Regions from separate parts of the Homo sapiens genome. Here all the other regions are linked to region 2. Evidence: promoter capture Hi-C in 16 types of primary human blood cells and fetal thymus (Javierre and others, 2016). All regions are on one chromosome and are shown on one strand. Each heading gives the region's core, a stretch centred on a gene start or on the middle of the fragment in contact. The rest is flanking DNA. Distances are from core to core; before and after follow the strand shown. Region 1 has its middle 24 kb from the start of MMP7. Region 2 holds the start of MMP27 (matrix metallopeptidase 27). Region 3 overlaps LOC124902740 (a long non-coding RNA gene). Region 4 has its middle 23 kb from the start of MMP7. Region 5 has its middle 23 kb from the start of MMP13. Region 6 has its middle 40 kb from the start of MMP13.

Region 1 (3,555 bases), core at 674-3,173, 150 kb before region 2:
AAATCCTGGCTTGCCTCTTTTTAGTAAATGACAGGGGCAGGTTCACTTAATCTGAAAATGGAGAAAACAGTAATACCCACCTCACTGAACTGTTGTGAAGATTAAATGAAACAGCACATGTAAGGCACTTAGTGGCTGGCATATACTAAAAGCTTAATAACAAAGATCATTCAGTAGAACTCAATAAAAACTCTCACACACTGCTGTTGGGAGTGTACATGACAATGACTGCTTTTGAAAACAATTTAGTGGTATATATTAAAGCTGAACGTATGCATAGATTATGGCCAAACAATTCCACTTCCATATACTCTTAGGCCTTTACTTTCCCAAATGCATACGTATTAGTTATCTAATAATAAATCACTCCAAAACGTAATAGCCAAAACAACATTTATTATAGCAGGTTCTGTGGGTCAGGAGTTCAGGTGTGGCTGAGCTGGGTCTTCTGTCTCAGGGTATTTCACAAGGCTGCAGTCAGCCAGGGCTGTGGTCACCTCAAGGCCTGTTTGGGGGAAAATCCACTTCCAAGCTTACCAATGAAGTTGTTGTCAGGATTCAGCTCTTCATGTGTTGTTGGAATGATGACCTCAGGTCCGTACAGAAGTCTGTCCTCAATTCCTCGCCACTGAGACTCTCCATAGGGCAGCTCAAAACAAGGCAGCGGCTTCATCAGAGAAAGCAAGCAAGAAGAGTGAGAGTGAGAATGAGCAAGAGAGAGAGAGATCCCCAGCAAGTCCAAGGTCATGGCCTTTAATAACCTAATCTTAGAGAGCAACGCTCCATCATGTTTGCCATATTCTGTTTGTTATGAATCACTACATCCACTTCACACACAAGGGTGGGGATTACACAGGACAAGAATAGCCAGAGGCAGGAACCATTAAGAACTGTTTTAGAAGCTCTCTACCACATGGAGTTTCACTAATAGATACTCACAAGAATATTCATAGTTGCACCGTTTGCAACAGTTAAAGCAGGGAAACAACCCAATGTCCATTAGCAACAGAATGGACAAACATATTACAAATCATTGTAATATATTCATACAATTAAATTCTAAACAACAGTGAGAATGAACAAATTATACCTACATGCAGCAGTATGAATAAGACTTTCAGACATAATGATGAGCAAAAGGAATCAAACAAAAAAGAATGTATATTATACATGCTTGTTTCATTTCAAGGGTTTTATTCTTATTTAGAAATAAGTATAGCATAGATAACGAGCTTGGGAAAACTACTAATGTTCCCAATCTAACAAAGTAAAATCTTACAAAGCAGTTGGCTTATCTAACATCCTGACTCCCTCCATTTTGTGTTATAGCTGGAAGTTACTGGAAACCTTACCGAACTTCTTTTTCCCCTTGGATCTTATTTCTGAGAGACAGAGACACTCTTCAAAACTTACCCTCTTCCTGGGTAAAGAAGCAGTCCTTTCCATTAAGACTTCCATTTCAGAACTTTGGTGATACTTTATAATCTTTTTCTATCCTATTATAAAATAGCAATAGTAGACTTTACCAACAATATGGATTTAGTAACTCACATTGATCTAGACCACAGTGTACCTTTAAAGAACAGAAAATCTAAGTAAAAAATATTAGATATACTGAAAATTTAGTTGTGAGGCCTTTTGGGGTACAGAAAGCAATACCCCAAAATATGGTGCTTTGGCATGTTGAGTGCTTGGAATTAAAGAAAATTGAAGGAGCTTAGAAATAAGCCTCAGAACCAAGGTCTTTCTCTGACCTTCCCCTTCCTCCCTGTCTCTCTGATCCTTTTTCTTCATGAAGAAAGAAGGGACTCTGTGGAATTTTCTTCTCTGACTAAGAAAGCTTCTTACAAGGAGAATTGCAATTGTCTTAAAATATCCCTCCTAAGAATCACATGAAATAACCAGAAAAGATTAACCACTAGAGAAGAGGAGATACTGGGAGTCATCACCATGCCTAAACAGACTTTCCATCTATTCTTCTGAGGGCAGCTCCAGGAGATTAACTGGGAAGCTTTAACTGGATAATAAGACTACCTTTGTTCACTGTGAAGTTCTGCCCCTTGCCTTCTCACCACCTCCCTCCGAGCTCAAAGGAACTTTGTTATTTACTCCGTGCTGTATGAAGAAGGCTATATAAGCATCCGGACCTCATTGGATTATTGGGCAATCATTTTCCTGTGATTCTCCCATGCTTATGCACATTAAATACATTTTTTATGACTTTTTCTCCTATTAATCTGCCTTTTGTCAGTTTATTTTCAGCAAACCTTCAGAGGGCAAAGGTGAAGCTTTCCTTCTTTACCCTACAGGCCCTTGAGAGATCTTGAAATATATTCTTCATTACATTAAAGCAATTCTGTGCTGTGAGAAAGAATGGCAACTAGTCTCTGTCAATGTATTCAAAAAATTATTAGGAGGCTATTATGTGATAGGAAATATTTTCAGTGGTAGAGATAATTTTTCCTTTTCTACAACAAGCTTAAATTGTACTAAGTCACTTAATATTTATTTGTGTAGTCATTTATTGAACTAACACCATGTAACACGTTTTATGCACATTAGTAATCATTATTTTATTGTATCAGCTTTTGCTATGTAATAAATCACTCCAAACACAGTGGCTTAAAATAAACATTTTATCTAGCTTTTGGGTATCTATGGTTGGCTGGGATGTTTGGGAAGGCTGGGACTTTTGAGGCAGCTAAAATGGCTTAAATGGCTGACTTCTCTCTGTATAACCTCCCATTCTCTGGAAGACTAGCTGATAATTCTTCACATGGTGGTCTCAGGGTTTCTAACAGCAAGACAACTCAAGCTCCAATGTGTACATATTTTTCAATCCTCTGCTTGCATTACATTTGATAATGCCCTATTCAAGCCCAAATTGAAGTTTAGATTTAAGGAATAAAAAAATAAATTCCACTTCAATATAAAAGGAGTGGCAAATTCACATTTAAGTGGGCACATGTACAGGGCTGGTAAGAATTACTGTGGCCATTTCTGCAAACGGTTTACTGTGTTTAGCATCCCCATTTTTCATTCAGGAAAACAAACTCAAGGAGTAATTTGAGCAAGTTTATAAAGTCGGACAGGATTTGAACATAGAGGAGTGACCATCAACTTTATATTCTTCCCATATATCACCCTGCTTCTAGGTGGAGCGAGCTTCACAAACCACTTTTCAGAGATTGCCAACTCTGAGAAAAAGGAAAGATGTGACTTTGCGACAACCATTTTGCCTGCTGTAGGAAGGCAGTCAATACAAATGCACTCTTTTATGTCATTATGTCAGTGCTCTGGGCATAGTCAGTGCTCTGGGAAGTCTCCCAGGCAGCCTATTTTCCAGTACAAGGACTAGCTTAGACCGAGGCAATGAAAAATTCATGACAAGAGAGTTCAGAAAATGTAGTGTACTTGCTGCCTTCAGGTACCACTTGATTGACTTCTCTCATATTGGGCTCTGCAGTAGCCATGTAATAAAGCAAGGGTGGGAAATTCCATGTTGGAAGCCCTCTTCCTGGGGCTCATCCCTGAAGGCTGTATGGTTGCTGCCTA
Region 2 (3,338 bases), core at 175-2,674:
TCTCTGTATTTAAGATGGTGGTAGCAGCAGAGCCTACAGCACAGGTTTGTTGGGAAGATACCGTAAATGGAGCCTAAGATGTGCTGTGCACACAGGAAGTGCTCAGTCAATTGAATGAATATTATTCTGTTCCTTGGAAATTATCTTTATGTTCCTTTGGATTAGGCGGAAATAAGCTGGCAGAAGCATTACCTGTAGGTGAGGTTGTATTTTCTCCACCCAGGGAGGGTGTAGCCATACTGGCCCACATCAGGCACCCCACACCTGGGTGTCTTCATGATCTCAAGGGTGTTTGAGTCCAGTTTTCCAGTCACTGTCAATCCAAAAAATGCTTGCATTTCCCGAATTTTGTCATCTATGAGACTCCTATTCTTGCTTTGAACAAGATGATTCCCTTCTATTTCAAGAGAGTAGAACTGGTTGAGATATGCCTGACCAAAAAGATAAGAAAAAAAAAAAAGAGGCACAGACTACAGGAGAGCAAATCTCCATCTCAGGATAAAGCAAAATTGCCTAAAATTCCTTCTGGCAATAGGAAAGGGGAAAAAAAAGAAGTAATGAGAGAAAGTGAGGAGTGAAGGAGGAAAGAAGAAAGGAAGGACACAAAGAGGAAAATAACGAGTCACCCTGCTCTTTCAATTTCCAAGACTTGGTTGACTTATGAGTGACCAGAATTAGCCAAAGCACGCAGCTCTTAAACCTCCACAGAAGAGAATGAAGCTTCGTCTGTCTGTTGAATGATGACCTATCTTACATATTTTTGCTGTTACTTTCATTTTGGTGTTTCTTTGAAACAAGTTCTAGGATAAATAAGTGATTATCCATTTTGCACATGTATTTGCTTTAACCAAAAATAAAAAGTTAACTGAACTGATTTTTAGAGGGAATCTGTAAAGCAATGTATTTTTTTTCATACATATAGGGATTAGGGCTCCAAATTGTAGATTGGGTCCTCCTGGTTGTCTTGAAATGCTTTTATAGTGATCTCCATACCTTGCAGGGCTCTCTCCTTTCTCCTCGCACTAAACATCCCTTCATTTGTGACCATTGCTAAAAGTTATAGCAGATCCTTTCCCCCTCCCTGTGCCAGCCCTCCTCCCCAACACAATTTCCTGATATCGTCAGAGATAGACAAATGAAAAGCAGTTCCTTCTCACAAAAAAGTTCAGGACTCTTTTGCAGGAATGTGTTTTCTTTTTAGGTCCCAAGAGAATCAATAAAATAAGCTTTTTATCAATAGTCATCGATATCATTTATTAAGACAGTACCTGAGCCAGTTGCATATTTTCTTCATTTTCCGTCATCCGGACTAAGGGAAATGCAGAAGAAAATGTTATAAAGAACAAAAACAGAAGCAGAAGGCGCTTCATTCCTCTCTTTCTTCAGCTGAAGCCGGTTCTGTTAGCACAGAATTTAGAAAATAATAGTGAGACGTGGCATGAATTGGCTTGTATCATCATTTAATTAATAACAGAAAGGGACACTTGCCATAAAGTGTGTCATGATTTGCTTTTTTTTTTTTTTTTTTTTGACTGAGCTGATTTTGTAATCTTGGCCTGCAATTGTTTAGTAAACACAGTTAGTGCTTATTACTGAATTGAATATACTGGGAAGTGAGCCTCCAAGTTATTTTTTTTTCCTTGCAAAGTTTTCTTTTGAAGGCAATCTCAGAATATCTTGGTAGGATGTTATCATAAAAAGACAAATGAATCAGGAGTCAGATTACCCTTATTAACTAAGATAAACTTCAAATGTTTATTGAATTCCTACTGTTTGCCTGCCCCTGTGAATGCAATCTTGTTGGAGAATTCAGACACATACAGAAATTAATGTAGGACAAAAAGGAGGCAAGTGGGCAAATACACAGTGCAGATTGTAAAGACTAAGAAGGGCCAAAGGCAGATCATTGCTTATGAGTGTGGCCTTGAGGTTTTATGCAAGTTAAATACAGCCTGCACTGGGGCTTGCACTAGGGCTTGCTCTGGGTTTTGGAGAATGTGTAGAATTTGGATTTACAGAGGAAGGAAGAAGAAGTATGAGTGCAAAGAGGCCATGGGAAGGAGGTAACACAGCAGAAATAAGCTGCAGGAAATCTGGCCTGACTGGAACAAAATACATATGTAGACAGCTATGGAAGATGGGATGGAGGGTCTCATGGACAAGACAGCTGACTGGGAAGATGAAGAGTCATAGAGGTCATGGATGATGAAGGCCAAAATTAACATCAGAAGTGAGAATATAGTTAGTGAGAGCCTTTTGGATTAATTTCAATATATTCTTCTTTACTTGGGCTACTTTTAGATGAAGGAACAGTCTTAGTTACAGCAATGTCCTCCCTCACTTGTCCTCCCCTTTTCTTCTACCAATTATTAAAATTTTCTTCCCTTTCTTCCCAAATGTTAACTCCTCAATCGATACACCTTTCTAAATCTTCCTTGTCCATATCCTAAACAAAATTTATATGGCATAGCTGAGGAACTTATAGGATCTAAGTAGATACATACTTCCTTTGCATTTAAAGCTCATCCCAGTTATAAATCTTGTTTCAGAAATATTATTATTTACTGTTTTAATATATGTATATAGTTTAAATTGTTTAATTGGCCTCTGGAGCAATGGGATGAAGGGGAGAAGGCAGACATGATCAGGATTTGTGTTATAATGGTATTAAGTACAAGTATGCTAAGTACAAGTATGCTCATTGTATTGTTCTTTTGTGTTTTTTAAACTCTAAAATATTTCAGAACAAAATTTAAAAAAAAATAGAGTTACCAGAAAAAGGGAAGTCAAATGGTGCTATCTTGTTGTAACGAAAAAGCATCTCTCTGCCCTAACCTTTCGCTCCTTCAAGTCCTGCTCCCCAAAGGTAACTTCTTTAAATTATTTTTATAGCTTTTTATCTTTATGTTTAACTCCACATTTGTAAATAACGTGCTTATGCTACTATTTCTCGAGTTTTCAAAGTTAAATGTTATTATTAACATCTTCCTATGGAAAAGAAGGACTTAACACTCCTTCTGCTTTCCTAATTTGGTTATAGGAATGTTTAAGCCCGTAATCAGCGTTCATACAATTATGACCATGAAAATATTATTCACAAGAGAATCACGTAGTATACTATGATTACATATCCTTTTCTTTTTTTTCCCTTTTTTTTTGAGACGGACTCTCGCTCTGTCACCCAGGCTGGAGTGCATTGGCACAATCTCGGCTCACTGCGACATTTGCCTCCCGGGTTCAAGCAATTCTCCTGCCTCAGCCTCCCATGTAGCTGAGACTACAGGCATGCACCACCATGCCTGGCTAATTTTTGTATTTTTAGTAGAGATGGGGTTTCA
Region 3 (3,448 bases), core at 1-2,500, 230 kb before region 2:
ACTGGCTGTGACCAATTATCATTTTAGAGAGATGGTTAACAACCACCTGACCATCACCTGATGGTTGCCTGATATTCCCGGTGGTGTTGGGGGTGGGGGGTCCTCTGCTGCCCTGCTCATGTCTGACTAGTTACCTACTGTAACAAGCCCATTAGGTGGTTACGTTTATAGCAAGGCAGATTGCACATCCTGGGACATCTTAGTAGAAGCGAGTGAGAAAGGCTTATTTTAGGATTTGGGCTTGTATTAGGTGATACTGAGAAGTGGAGCTTTGCCAGGATTGGTTGCTATCAAGGGAGTAGAGGCAATTTTATGACTGGGTATTTTAACAAATCTTATTGAAGGGGGCAGGAATAAACTGAGTCTAAAACTTTAATTGGCAGAGGCAAGATCCTCTCATATTAGCTAGGATGGGGGATATTTTGGTTATTTTTGTGGTTTGGACATGTTTGTTTTTCTGTTCAGACATCGTGATGGAGTGCTCTTGTTTTTGTCATGATCACAGAGTGCTCTGGTCTGACGTTAATGTTCAGTGAAACTGTTTATGTTCCACACCAAGGCCTAAATATGAGTGCCAGGCCAGCTTTCAGTTGTCAGGGGCTGCTTTTTCCTTTCTTATCTCTATGGGGTGATATAGTTCCTGTAAGGGTAAAAACTTTGGAAGGATAAAGGAACAAAATGTGGTGGATTGCTATAGAGGACTAGCATTGATCCTCAAACTTTGACATGCATCAGAATCTCCTGGCAGACCTATGAAAATATGGGGGCTGCCCCCTCCGCCAGAGTTTCTGATTCAGTAGGTCTAATGTGAGACTTGAAAATTTGCATTTCTAACCAGTCCTCAGGTGTTGTCTATGCTACCAGACCACACTTTGAAAACCACTGAAGTAGATGGAAGTATCAAAAGTGAGGATGATTACAGTGTAAGAAAACTGACCCAATAGGGTTATCTGCAATTCTCAAGATAAAAATCTAGAGTGGGCCAGCTGCAGTGGCTCATGCCTGTAATCCTAACACACTGGGAGGCCGAAGCGGGTGGATCATCTGAGGTCAGGAGTTCGAGACCAGCCTGGCCAACATGGTGAAACCCTATCCCTACTAAAACCACAAAAATTAGCCGGGCATGGTGGCGCATGCCTGTAATCCCAGCTACTCGGGAGGCTGAGGCAGGAGAATTGCTTGAACCCAGGAGGCGGAGGTTGCAGTGAGCCGAGATTGCACCACTGCACTCCAGCCTGGGCCACAAGAGTGAGACTCCATCTCAAAAAAAAAAAAAAAAATCTAGAGTGGTCTCTATGTGACTCTCTAATGCAATTCTAACACTGTATGATTGTGCATTTTCCTATTTTAAATTACCAGTCTTTCAGAGGGAAGAGTATATAAGAAGATTCTTCCCAAAATAATTTGTGCAAATTGTTGACAGCCGAAGTTTGTAATGCACATAAAAGTAAAACTTTTATGTGTTTATTGTTCATTTTCCAGGAAGTTCTCAATTACAAATAGGCAGATTTATTTTAGGGAAACAGATTAGTAAAACCAGTTTTTCACTAGATTATTTACAAATTGTCTCACTATACGTTATACATATTACATGCAAAGGAGGCCTTATGATCCTTTTTTAACTATTCTCTCATCAATATTAAGATAGAATTCTTTAAAAGGAATGTAACTGCTCACCCTTTTGAAGTGTTTAAATGTCTTCACTAAAAATTTGACATTTTCTACTTGATTTGGTTTACTTTTTCCTGAAAAAAGTGAACACAGTGAAAGGAAGTGATAAATAGGGATGCAAATGGGTTATCCTTTCTTGTTCTAAAAAATTAGTCTTAAGTTTATTTTTCTCTCTATAGGAGATAAAAGATGTATGACATGGACCACTTATGGTTTAAGCTGAATTGCCTCTGTCTTATAATTTTTACTGAGATTCAGTTTATGTTTGACCTAAAAAATTTAAGTATCATACAAAGAGTTTATATAAGAACTTAATATAATTTTCTATAGCTCTTTTAACAAGTTGTAAACTATTTTATTAACCCTTTCTTTAAAAGGCTACCAAGAAGCTGATAATTCATGAGAAACAGATAAAATGACTATAAATTATTCCTCTCAAATAGGACATTTGGCCCTCTTTCTAAAATAATTTCATCATCTCTTTAGAGAGAATAAATAGTCTTTGGCAGGGAGCTAGATCTTGCAGATCTAACAGGGGGTTTTCCGTGTTGCATCAGAATAAGAATTCAAATAGAATAAGATAATTAACTTGAAATTCCAGGCTTGGGTCCACTCCTGACTATCTACTGGACCAGGAGCCTGTCTTGTGCCTTGCTCTGATGAGTAATTAACTTCAGTTTCTTCATTTGTGAAGTAAAGGGCTTAGACTAGATCATCTTTAGGGATTCCCTGAGCTCTGAAATGTTTACACTGTTAGAATAGGCCTAAGGCTATCAGTTTCAATTATGTTGTACTCATCTGTTTCACAGCTCTTCTTGAATATTTTGTTCAATATCAGAAGGATGTTGAGAACAGGGCATGTAAGGAGATGGTGAAAGGTCTAGGAACATGTTAGTAAGAATTGGAGGAACGGAGCTTGGAAAAGTGGTTCAGGGTGGGAGAAGTATGAGATCTTTTTCTCTGAAAAATATGGAATCTCTCATGTGAAGAAGGCAAACATGTATTCCAAGAACAATGGGTGAAACTTGCAAGGAGACAATTTCAGTTCCTATATACCCCTTTATCTCCAACTTCCAGTCCCTGATCCTCCAGAAGATCTTTTGATCTCTGGGCCACTGGCTTAAACTCTCCTCCAAATCCAGTCCCACCTCCTCCACAAATTTTTATGTAAGTTCTAAAACTCCAGCTTCCCTAGAAAATCCTTTAAACATCAACTGCCTGCTTTATCTTTCCTTTCCTTGCAAAATTTTCAGAGAGCACTCCAGCCTGATCTCTAGGCTCAGAGTATACAGGTCACTTGTGTCAATGCTGACAGCCAGAAAATAAACCTGGCACAGGCCCTGGTACGTGCAGCTAGTCTTGCTTTGCTGTACCTTACAACTCCTCCTACTTCCTGGTGTTCTGTAATCAGACTCCTCAGCCACAGACCTTCCTATACAATGCCTCCTGTGAATATATCCTGGATCCCTACTGCAAAGAATTCATGTCCCTTGGACAGAAACAGATCTTCTAAATTACAAAGCCCTTTTGTCTCCACTTTTGAAAGAGCCTATCAAATTTAGAGAGGAGTTAGAAAGATTAGTGGCCATTTATAACCCCATTCATAGGAACCTCCACTGGCTACTAAGGGGTGTTCTTTACACCCATGATTATACTGTGGTTATCAGACATTCCAGAAAGCCCCCAAATGAATGTCTTACCTCTAGAGGGAATAAGTGGCCAGAACTTCTCCCAGGTCCTCCTACAATTGACCAGGAAATGGCTGAGTTATGGGGCC
Region 4 (3,620 bases), core at 306-2,805, 200 kb before region 2:
AAGGACTTGCTTTATGAATCTTGGTGCTCCTGTATTGGGTGCATATATATTTAGGATAGTTAGCGCCTCTTGTTGAATTGATCCCTTTACCATTATGTAATGGCTTTCTTTGTCTCTTTTGATCTTAGTTGGTTTAAGGTCTGTTCTATCAGTTCAAAGAACCCTGTCAGTGCCTCAGCAAAAAGAAAAGCCTGAGTGAAATTTCAATGATCCCTTTTCATTTTGATTAGAAACAGAAAGAAGTTCTTCAATCCGCTAGTGAATGAAATCAAAAATTCCTCTTTGCCAAAGGAATCACCTGAAATTTCTTTTATGTAAAAATTAAAAGAAAATATAAACTAATTGTTTGTTTTTTTTAATTTTTAAGGTCAGGGTACATGTGCAGGTTTGTTACGTAGGTAAACTTGCATCACAAGTATTTATTGTACAGATTATTTCATCAGCCAGGTGATAAGCCGAGTATCCTTTAGTTATTTTTCTTGATCCTCTCCCTTCTCCCACCCTCCATCAGGGTGTGTTGTTCCCCTCTATGGGTCCATGTGTTCTCATCATTTAGCTCCCACTTATAAGTGAGAACATGTGGTATTTGGTGTTCTGTCCCTGTGTTAGTTTGCTAAGGATAATGGCCTCCAGTTTACGGAAAATGACCAGAAACATCAGAAAGTTCATGGTGACAGGTATATAGAACTCTGAATTACTGCTTTTTAATTTATGCTTCTTCATTTTCTTCATAGGTAAATGTTGGTTTCTCCAAGGAACTTCAATAAGACTTTGTTTGTGGTAGCTCTTTTATGCCACCTGAAATTATTTTTAAAAAGCTTTACTGAGTTATAAATGATACACAGATAACTACACATATTTAATGTGTACAATTGGTTGAGTTTAGACATAAGTAAACACCCATGATATCAACACCGCAATCAAGGTAATAGAAATATCTAACACCACCCAGGGTTTCCCTGTGTTCCTTTATTTTTGTTTTTAATTAGAAATAACTCTGTATTTATTTCTTTCCAAGCATTATAGCAATACATATATTTCAAAAACCAGAATGCCTCTTCTCCTCCAAAGGATCTCATTTGAATCTAATGATATGGTAATTCTGGAAGTCAGATTCTCTCCCATCCCTAGGGTTTGCCTTGCCTTTTTTTTTTTTGTATTCTTTTTTTTTTTTTTTTTTGAGACGGAGTCTCGCTCTGTCGCCCAGGCTGGAGTGCAGTGGCGTGATCTCGGCTCACTGCAAGCTCTGCCTCCCAGGTTCACGCCATTCTCCTGCCTCAGCCTCCCGAGTAGCTGGGACCACAGGCGCCCGCCACCACGCCCAGCTAATTGTTTTGTATTTTTAGTAGAGACGGGGTTTCACCTTGTCAGCCAGGATGGTCTCGATCTCCTGACCTCGTGATCCACCTGCCTCGGCCTCCTAAAGTGCTGGGATTACAGGCGTGAGCCACCACCCTCGGCCTTTTTTTGTATTCTTATAGGTGGTCTCTGTGCCAAGGATCAGCATGAAGTATAAACTTAAGGTCTTCTCAGGTCTTTTCTGAGCCTGAGCCTACCCTAGAGCATGCATGATGGCTTTCTGATTTCCCTTGTATATGCAGTTGTCTGTTAAGGTTGTGTCTTCAGTGTCTGGTCCCAAAAGGGGAAAAAGAGAAAAATGAAGGAGGAAAAAGTGCTGGCCGTTTAAATCCCCTGGAAGTTATTTCAGTCAGTTGGGGAGAGCTTGCAACAGTGAGGGAGATGCAAAAACAATGGCCATAACCTCTTTGTGTGATCAGAAGCAGCAATCTGGAGATCAGAGCACAAATACCTAATAATTGCAGGACAGGGTCCTGTTCGTCCACCCTGGCTCTCAAAGTTGTATGAAAGTTGTATTATATAAAGCTGCTCCAGGAACAGGTGCACAATTGCCTGCCACTGGGCTTAGAGTGGGGGATGGGTAGCCGCTACTGTATTAAGAGCTGAAATTCACCAAAATTCACTACAATTTACTATCTAAGCTGTCCCCTGGAAGATGGAAGCCTTGCATTGACTCCAGAGTTCTAACATAGTTACATCAGACAGATTCTTCCAGTGCAATTGTCATCTAGGTGAGGAGCTAGATTTCTGGTAGTTCCAACTCTGCCATCTTCCTAGAATCCTCACCTGTGGTTCTTTTTAAAGTTCTCTTTTTCCTTAATTTCTTAGGCATTGATCTAATTATGTACTGTGGATAACTCAATTTTCTGTATTTTGGGAGTGACTTGAATGATTTAATAATTTGAATATAACCTTAATGGAAGTTTATGTTAGTGAAGCTTTCATTTAATTTCCGAAATAACTGTTTTTACACATATATATATATCCAATTCCATTAAGAAGCTGACAATCTAGAGTGGACTCCTTAATTAAACAGAAGATTGTTAATTCAATGAGGTAAGTGATGAATGTGAGGGGTAAAATGTTAGTTACCGAGGCAGCTCTTAAGAGGAGCATCTAAGCAGGTTTAGGTGAGTGTGAGATCAGTGAAGGTATTCTGGACGTCAAGACATATAGACTGAGAGGTGAAGAACTCCAGAAGTAGCCAGGTGAAGAGAAGTGGCTCCTTTTATATCAGTTTTAAACTCTGTAAGCTAGGTTGTTTCCCTTGTAGAGCCCCAATGAGTGATTCTGATAACACACGTTTTCCTTCATATCCTTGCTTTTCATAATAGAATTGGTAGCATTCGTAAATTTACTCCAGGGTGAAACAAAATATTTTGACATGTAAAGGATTCTAAAATCATAAAAGATTATCAACAAATAGTATCTTTTTAGTTGATCGTTCAATTTTAGAACTAGAAGGATCGTAAGTCTTGCTTTATAAAGGAAGGGAATTAAAATAAATGATGATCCGTAGCTAAGAGAAGAAAGCCCAAGTCCTCCCTACTAGTTAGAGCATAATTAGGATCAAAACAGAACTTCAGACATAGTTCAATATTTTTTCTGTTTCATATGATTATTTTTACATTAACAACAACAACAACAACTTAACAACAACAACAACAACGATGTGAGAACAGCTGTGGTTAGCTTCACACTAGGTTGGCACTGGGAGAAAAAAATAATTAACTTACTTTTTTATATACCACTTCAGTCACCTTTGATCTGGTCTTCATTCTGCATTGTTGGACTCTATTTTTCTGGAAAGTTTCATGGCAAAAATGGTGAATAACACCAACAAGGAGAGGAATACTACTACATTCTATTTTTTCCCTTTATAGTTAGATTCATTTGTTTTTGTGCTAGCATGGCCAAAAAATAATTTATTGGAAGAACATTAGAATGCTTTATGAAATCCTAAAGAAACCAATGAACAACCAGGGCGTGGGAAAGAAAAGTTTTACAGTATTTCTGGGATCTTCAGCAGCTTATTTGAAATATAGGGATCTTTCCTGTGGGATCTCACCACAAGCGAGACTCAGCTCAGAGCTCCCAGTCTCTAGGCCTCTCTATTCACTGTGGTTACTTTGTGGGGTCTATGTGCATACAAGGGCTTGCTCTGTTCAGGATGGTGTCTTTCAGGTTAGAACAGGGCCTGGAAAATGGTTGCTATGGTTTGGATACAGATTGTCCCCACTAAATCTCATGTTGAAATTTAA
Region 5 (3,488 bases), core at 396-2,895, 230 kb after region 2:
AGAGGGAGCTGGGATCTAGGAATAACCAATAATACTTCATGTTAATACATACTTTATCATTTACATGTTTCAAGGATGCTATTTTATATAATCTTTAGAGCAACCTGTGAGGTAGGCAAGGCAAGTATTTCTATCTTCATTTTAATGCACAAGAATGTGAAATACAGAGGTGCTTGAAAGTGCTAGAGCTCAAATTCAAACTTTGATATTTTATTTTTTTGGCATTACTGTGCTGCATTATCACATTTGACAGCTGTGCTGCTGTGGCCAAAACACCAAAAGAAATTCTGGGTATCTCCAGAGAGGGAATTTAAATGTGTATCTTTGGGTCTGCAGAGGCTGTGGGACCACCTCTAGTCTTGGGCTGTCGATCTTCCAGTCGCTGTGCTCTAGGGCTCATGTGCTCTTATTGTGGTCCATGCTGCAGGAAAATAGGACTAGGTGGATGTAATAGCTCCCCTGATGAGCACACACATACACACACGCTCCAGACAGCATATTCCACTTCTGCACTGTTTAATGTGTACTCATTTGGGGTGGGAGGCACATCTCCCAAGTGCCCTTTGGGCACAGCAGTTTGTAGCAGGGTGAATAGCTGCAGAATATGCAGTCTTTTCTTTCTCTTATTCCATTCCAAGGCCCCTTATTTCCTCCCATTTCTCTTCCCTTTCTCCTTGCACACTGTAATCAGCTTCTGTTGTCTAAACCCTCCTCTAAGCCAGTGACCAGCATTTCATACACAGGGGTGTTTCTGAGTCAGAATAAGACCATGAACCTGGGAAGCTTTGTAGCCAACATGACTCTCACCAAAGCAGAAAACCTGCTAGATTCATTCAAGGTCCTACAGCCAGCCCTGGCCTGCGGGTGATCATCACAGTCACCTCGTCACCATAGCTCAGGTACAGGAACCATCACAACGGGGACTGCCAGCCTGGGAGGGCATGCCAAAGTCGCTATCCTTTGTCACAGGTAAAAGATGAAACTACTCAGTGCCACACAGATAAAATGAGTCTCTGTCTTAACAGAGCGGTTGTCTAGGGATTGTAGTAGAACTATACTACCTCGGAGAGAAGCTACACGGGGAGTCACTGGAATACTGGAAGTTTTTGCACTTTCATTGAGGGTAAGAAGGGAGACCCAATTAATTTCAGGGGCCTGTTATTTCCCAGACTACTCTGCCCTTGGTCACCAAGTATGTTGCCAGTGGTCAGCAACCATGAGAATGTACCTACTTTGCCATGGGAATGATGTGTAACCCTAGGTGGTAAAATTATATAGATCAAATAATCTGATATCTTGCAACTCTAACCTGCCAGTCAATTTATATGATGAACTAAATATGTCCTGCTACTTTTAATTTTTTTTTCTTTTGAAGTGTCTTTTGTATGTTATTCTGGCACTTTTTACTTAAACTTCTCACATGAGTGGCTTGGCTCAGTTTTAAACCTAAACCTAATTTTAGTTCCTCCCTGAGAAATATACCAACAACCTCAGTAATCAGAATTGACTTGCTATATACACAGTATTGCTATCCCTAGTGAATTAGGAAGGAATGAACAAAAACTCAGAGTTAAATTTTATTTTAAGAAATTTGGACGACAGTTTTATTAATGGTAGCTTGCCCACCTCCTGAGAGCTCCAGCTATGGGAATTAGCCTAGAGGGGATATACAGAGAGCCTTCTCAAACTTGACTCAATTCTGATGATTGTGATTTCATGTTCAGTAACATACATTCAGCTGGTATAAAACTATGCTTCTACAGGGTGTGTTTTTACCCCCAGGTCCAAAGTCTTAATCCTTCTTCACTAAGTAAAGAATCATCAATGACTATACCACTGAAGGGAACACCTTAAAGTATCTTCTTCCTTTTCTCGAGGAGGAATTGGGAGTTGATAGCATCAACTGTCAGTTACTACTGGAGCTGGCAGAGAGATATGAACATATCCTCCGGATAGCGTGAGACACGTTTCAGTGATCTAAGGGTATGGCCATGTCGATGTGCTGTCTGTGGAATGACTACATACACTCCACGTGGTTTTAAAAGAATGGGTTAAGGCTCAAGAGGATTTGGTGTTTTCAGCAACTCTATGAATCCTCAGAGTTGATTCAATTACTGATGTAGAAATAAAGGCAGGCATATGTTTGGAAAAAATGACTACCTTGTACTTCAGCTGACTGGGTCATATGGCATGGCCAAGTTGTGTAAGTATGGGAGTAAATAGGTTCAGGGAAGCATTGGATGTCGACACTTTTTGTCTGTGCCCACTTGAGGATCCAGCAAGATTTTAGTCTCAGATGTTTTATGTCCCAAGTACAGTGCTTCCATCATCCCATCTGGTCTTCACCTTTCCCTGAGAGAAATTCCTGATGACTGGCTAATATTCTTTGTATTTTAGAAACCACTGGGTCGTTCCCCCTTGGCTTTGTATATGCTCAGGAAATACAGATGAATTTTAAAACTAGCCTAACTAAGATATCTAGTAAAAGAAAAACTGTTTCCTCAAACAAAGCTTAAACTTTATTCTGTGGACCAATAATAATGCATCTTTTCTTGGGCATTTGTTCCTGTTTCCTAAGCCACCATATTCCCATGCCAATAATCACCATTAGTGTGGATAGTTCAGTAGTTGGCTAAAAGGTCGAATGGTCTTCACAAAGGGCAGAAGGATCTTCTGATTCCACCACCCATCGAGGAAGGACCCTCTGTTTGTCCAGAACCAAATGAAGGGAGGCAAGACTTATTAGTTGCAAATAAAAAAAACCATGATTCATGTTTTTAGTTTTAATTCTAGATTTTTTTTTGAATTTTTAAAACAGAACTTTATGTCCTCAAAAATACACAGTAGATATACGAACACTTAATTATTTGACTAAACTGAGAAGTGGCCCTGAGGTTGTACAGACAGAGGAAGTACTTGAGGACCACTGCTGTAAACCTGAAAGAATGACTTCAGATACTGGTGTTGAGGGTGAGGTTTGTGTGTGATTTCGTGAGACCTCTCACCCATACCTCTACCACACATGACCCACTTTTACCGCCATCTTCAGGATTGAGGAAGTAGCAGCTATGACTTACTGAGCACTTGCTATGTGCCAAGGAGTCTGCTAAGTGCTGTAGATCCATTCTTTCAGTTTAGTGCATAGTTCTAGAGGTAGAATGGCTGGGTTCAAATCCCAGTTCTTCCACATACTGGTTGTGTGACCTAGGGCAAGTCTCTTCACCTCTCTGTGCTTTCTTCCTCACTCATAAGAACAAAAATAGAACTTTTGTGACAATAAGTTAATTAATGTATGTGAAGCATGTAAACATCCCTGGCACATAGAAAAGTATACATGTTTGTTACTATTATCAGCCATATTTTAGAAACTGAGACTTGGAGGGGCTACTTAGTTTCTTCAGTGTTTCACATCATTCTTCTGGGAGCAGGTTAAGAACTGCCTTGAGGCTGATTTACATAATGTTTTATAGATAATTTATTGTCTGTAT
Region 6 (3,258 bases), core at 674-3,173, 210 kb after region 2:
TTGTTACATTAATTTTTTTATTAGTTTATTTTAAGTCATATTCATTGAAGTATAATTTACATACATAATTATGTATAATTTTCATACAGTAAAATATGTATAATTTTCATACAGTAAAATTTATACTTTGCTGAGTGTTGGCAAATTAAGATGCAAACCACAAAATATAAACCATCTAAGGGGTTATGTCAGCAAGATAGCAGAATAGGAAGGGCCAGACTCTACTTCCCTGCGGGGAGACACTGAATCAACAAGAATACATAAATCAATTCCCTTTATAAGAAAACCAGAAACAAGTTAGGAGGTTCCTGCACTTCAAGGGAAGGCAAAACCAGCCTCACTAAAGCCAGTAGAAAAACTCATGGCACTCACTCACCATAGTCCTTTCTCCCATTTCAGTGTGAATTATCAAAAGAAAACTTCTAGCTACTGTCTTCTGCTTGCGGAGGGAAAGAGAAGGCTAGACAGTACATCCAACATTCAGACTCTTTAGGGGGCTGGTCAAGGGACTGGTTTCTGTCTTGCCTGAATCTAAGTGCAGACAGGAAAGAGTGTCAGGTTGAAGGCTGCTAAGAACAAAGGTGAAGATTTGCAGCACTCACTTGATGTACTTGCTCCTCCTGGCTCATTGTAAAATAAGTAGGAGAAAACCACCAACTCCTGGCTTTTCCCTGGGGAGGAAAATTACTGGAGCATGTGTTCAATGTTCTAGTTTTTCAGGGAGCTGCCAAGGGATTGGTTTCTGTCTCACCTGTCTCAGAGCACTGACAGGACCTGACAATATAGAGATGTAGGGACCACTGACAACAAAAGAATTGGGCAGCTTGATACTGCTTAGGAGGACCTGTGGTATAGCAGATAGAGGCCAACACAGCTCCATAGCCTCCTCGTTGGGGTAGAAAGAGAAGAATTCCATGTATGTCCATGTTCCAACTATTCTGGGAGCTGCCCAAGACACTGGTTTCTGTATCCCTAGTCTCACAGCACTGACAGGACCTGGAATATGCTAGAAGCCTGGAGGTTGCTAAAGCCAAAACAGAATGGGGCAGCTTGAAGCAGCTCCAGAAAATCTTCAGTGTTGCAGACAGACACCAGAGGGAGCAAGAGATCGTGAGCTCCTCCAAAAATAAACTGGCAAATCCCTCTAATTCAGAATTTATGTGCTCAAAGACAGAGATAATGCACCCACAGAAAAAGTTTGAGAGACCCCCAGAATCTCTAGCTGGGATAATTGGTGAGGGTATTTTCCTGTTCAAAGTCAGCCCATAAAGACTGGGAGAGGTGGCTGTTTTTTCAAATGTGTAGATCCCAACACAGTTACAAGGCATACAAAGAAACAGAAAGCCTGGCCCAATCAAAGGAACAAAATAAACCTCCAAAAAATGATCCTAAAGAAACAGAGGTATATGAGTTGCCTGAAAAAAGTCAAGATGTTATAAAGATGCTTAAAGAGCTCAAGAAAGTGATACATGAACAAAATGAGAATGTCAACAAAGAGAAAATATAAAAAAGATCCAAACAAAAATTCTGGAGCTGCAGAATACAATGTGAAGTTACAGTGGAAAGATCTTCCTCTATGAAGAAAGTGGGCCCTCACCAGGCACCAAATCTGCTGGCACCTTGATGTTGGACTTCTCGATTTCCAGAACTTTGAGAAACAAATTTCTGTTGTTTATGAGCAACACAGTCTAAGGTGTTTTGTTATAGTAGCCCAACAAATTAAGATAAGGGGTTCGACAGCAGACTTAGTCAAGCAGAAGAAAGAATCAGTGAACTCAAAGACAGATAAAATAGACTTTAAGTCAAAAATCATGACAAAAGACAAAGAAGGACATTATTTATTGATAAAAAGGTGAATTCACCAGCAAGATAAACAGCTATAAACATACATGCAACCAACATCCAAGGACCCAATTATATGTAGCAAACATTGATAGAAGTGAATAGGGAAATAGCAGTACAATAACAGTGGGAGATTTCAATACTCAACTTTTAAAAATGAGAAAACATTATTCACATGCAAAAAATGTAATTAGACCCTTATCTTATACCATACACAAAAATCAACTCAAAATGGATTAAAGACATATATATATGACCTGAAACTACAAAAACTCTAGAAGGAGACATAGGGAAAAACCTTGATAACATTGGTCTTGACATTGATTTCTTGGATATGACCCTAAAACCACAGGCAACAAAAGTAAAAATAGACGAGTGAGACACCATCAAACTAAAATGCTTCTGTGTAGCAAAGGAAGCCATCAACAGAGTCAACTTATGGAATGGGAGAAAATATTTGCAAACCATATATCTGATAAGGGATTAATATCCAAAATATATAAGAGACTCTTACAACTCAATAGCAAAAATAACTGATAACCCATTTTTTAAAAAAATTGGGCAAAGGACTGAATAACCATTTCTCCAAAGAAGACATACAAATGGCCAACAGGTATATGAAAAGATGTTCAACATCACTAATTATCAGAGAAACGCAAATCAAATCTACAATGAGATATTACTGCACACCTGTTAGGATAGCATCATTAAATAAAACAGAAAATAACAAGTGTTGACAAGGATGTGAAGAAGTTAGAACTTTAATATACTGTTTGTGGGGATGTAAAATTGCGCAGCCACTGTGGACAAGAGTTTGAAGATTCCTCAAAAATTAAAAATAGAACTACCAAGTGATCCAGCAATACCACTTTTGAATGTTTATTCAAAACAACTGAAAATAGGATGTATTTGCACTCCCATGTTCAATGAAGCATTATTCCTAACAGCCAAGATGTAGAAATATCCTAAATGTCCATCGACAGATGGATGGTTAGAGAACATGTATTAGCCAGGTGTGGTGACTCACGCCTGTAATCTCAGCACTTTGGGAGGCTCAGGTGGGCAGATCGCTTGAGGTCAGGAGTTTGAGAACAGCCTGGCCAATATGGTGAAATCCCATCTCTACTAAAAATACAAAATATAGCCAGGCATGGGGGCATGCACCTGTAATCCCAGCTACTCAGGAGGCTGTGGTACCAGAATCGCTTGAATCTGGAAGGTGGAGGTTGCAGTGAGCTGAGACTGAGATTGTACCACTGTACTCCAGCTTGGGTGACAGAACAAGACTCTGGAAAAAAAAAAAAAAAGAGAGAAAAGAAAAAGAAAGAAAGAAGGAAGGAAGGAAGGAAAAATGTATTATAGGCTGGGTGTGATGGCTCACGCCTGTAATCCAAGCAATTTGGGAGGACAAGACAG

Evidence for each region. Contacts are between HindIII fragments. The CHiCAGO score rates a contact against its expected background, and 5 or more counts as called.
Region 1: a contact is called between a fragment that was not itself captured here and the fragment with the promoter of MMP27 in region 2, in 2 of 17 cell types (M0 macrophages and M1 macrophages). The highest score is 5.8, in M0 macrophages.
Region 3: a contact is called between a fragment that was not itself captured here and the fragment with the promoter of MMP27 in region 2, in 2 of 17 cell types (M1 macrophages and M0 macrophages). The highest score is 6.1, in M1 macrophages.
Region 4: a contact is called between a fragment that was not itself captured here and the fragment with the promoter of MMP27 in region 2, in 2 of 17 cell types (M0 macrophages and M1 macrophages). The highest score is 6.8, in M0 macrophages.
Region 5: a contact is called between a fragment that was not itself captured here and the fragment with the promoter of MMP27 in region 2, in 5 of 17 cell types (M0 macrophages, M1 macrophages, monocytes and 2 more). The highest score is 10.3, in M0 macrophages.
Region 6: a contact is called between a fragment that was not itself captured here and the fragment with the promoter of MMP27 in region 2, in 3 of 17 cell types (M1 macrophages, M0 macrophages and monocytes). The highest score is 6.4, in M1 macrophages.

Annotation. Positions count from the first base shown.
Region 1 is chr11:102,553,299-102,556,853 of GRCh38, forward strand. No RefSeq gene overlaps it. Among named protein-coding and RNA genes, the nearest start is that of MMP7, 24 kb to the left of the region's middle. The HindIII fragment of the contact is 171 bases long and covers 1,839-2,009 here.
Region 2 is chr11:102,704,345-102,707,682 of GRCh38, forward strand. It overlaps MMP27 (matrix metallopeptidase 27), which reads right to left and starts at 1,425. Exons shown (of 10, transcript NM_022122.3): 1 at 1,269-1,425; 2 at 193-431. The coding sequence starts at 1,370. The HindIII fragment of the contact is 3,149 bases long and covers 1,225-3,338 here.
Region 3 is chr11:102,473,979-102,477,426 of GRCh38, forward strand. All of the region lies in intron 1 of LOC124902740 (a long non-coding RNA gene), which reads left to right. All of the region lies in intron 1 of LOC102723838 (a long non-coding RNA gene), which reads left to right. Among named protein-coding and RNA genes, the nearest start is that of TMEM123-DT, 23 kb to the left of the region's middle. RefSeq lists a silencer at 2,923-2,972. The HindIII fragment of the contact is 5,404 bases long and covers 1-3,448 here.
Region 4 is chr11:102,505,622-102,509,241 of GRCh38, forward strand. No RefSeq gene overlaps it. Among named protein-coding and RNA genes, the nearest start is that of MMP7, 23 kb to the right of the region's middle. The HindIII fragment of the contact is 1,479 bases long and covers 817-2,295 here.
Region 5 is chr11:102,930,825-102,934,312 of GRCh38, forward strand. No RefSeq gene overlaps it. Among named protein-coding and RNA genes, the nearest start is that of MMP13, 23 kb to the right of the region's middle. The HindIII fragment of the contact is 1,728 bases long and covers 782-2,509 here.
Region 6 is chr11:102,913,863-102,917,120 of GRCh38, forward strand. No RefSeq gene overlaps it. Among named protein-coding and RNA genes, the nearest start is that of MMP13, 40 kb to the right of the region's middle. The HindIII fragment of the contact is 6,898 bases long and covers 1-3,258 here.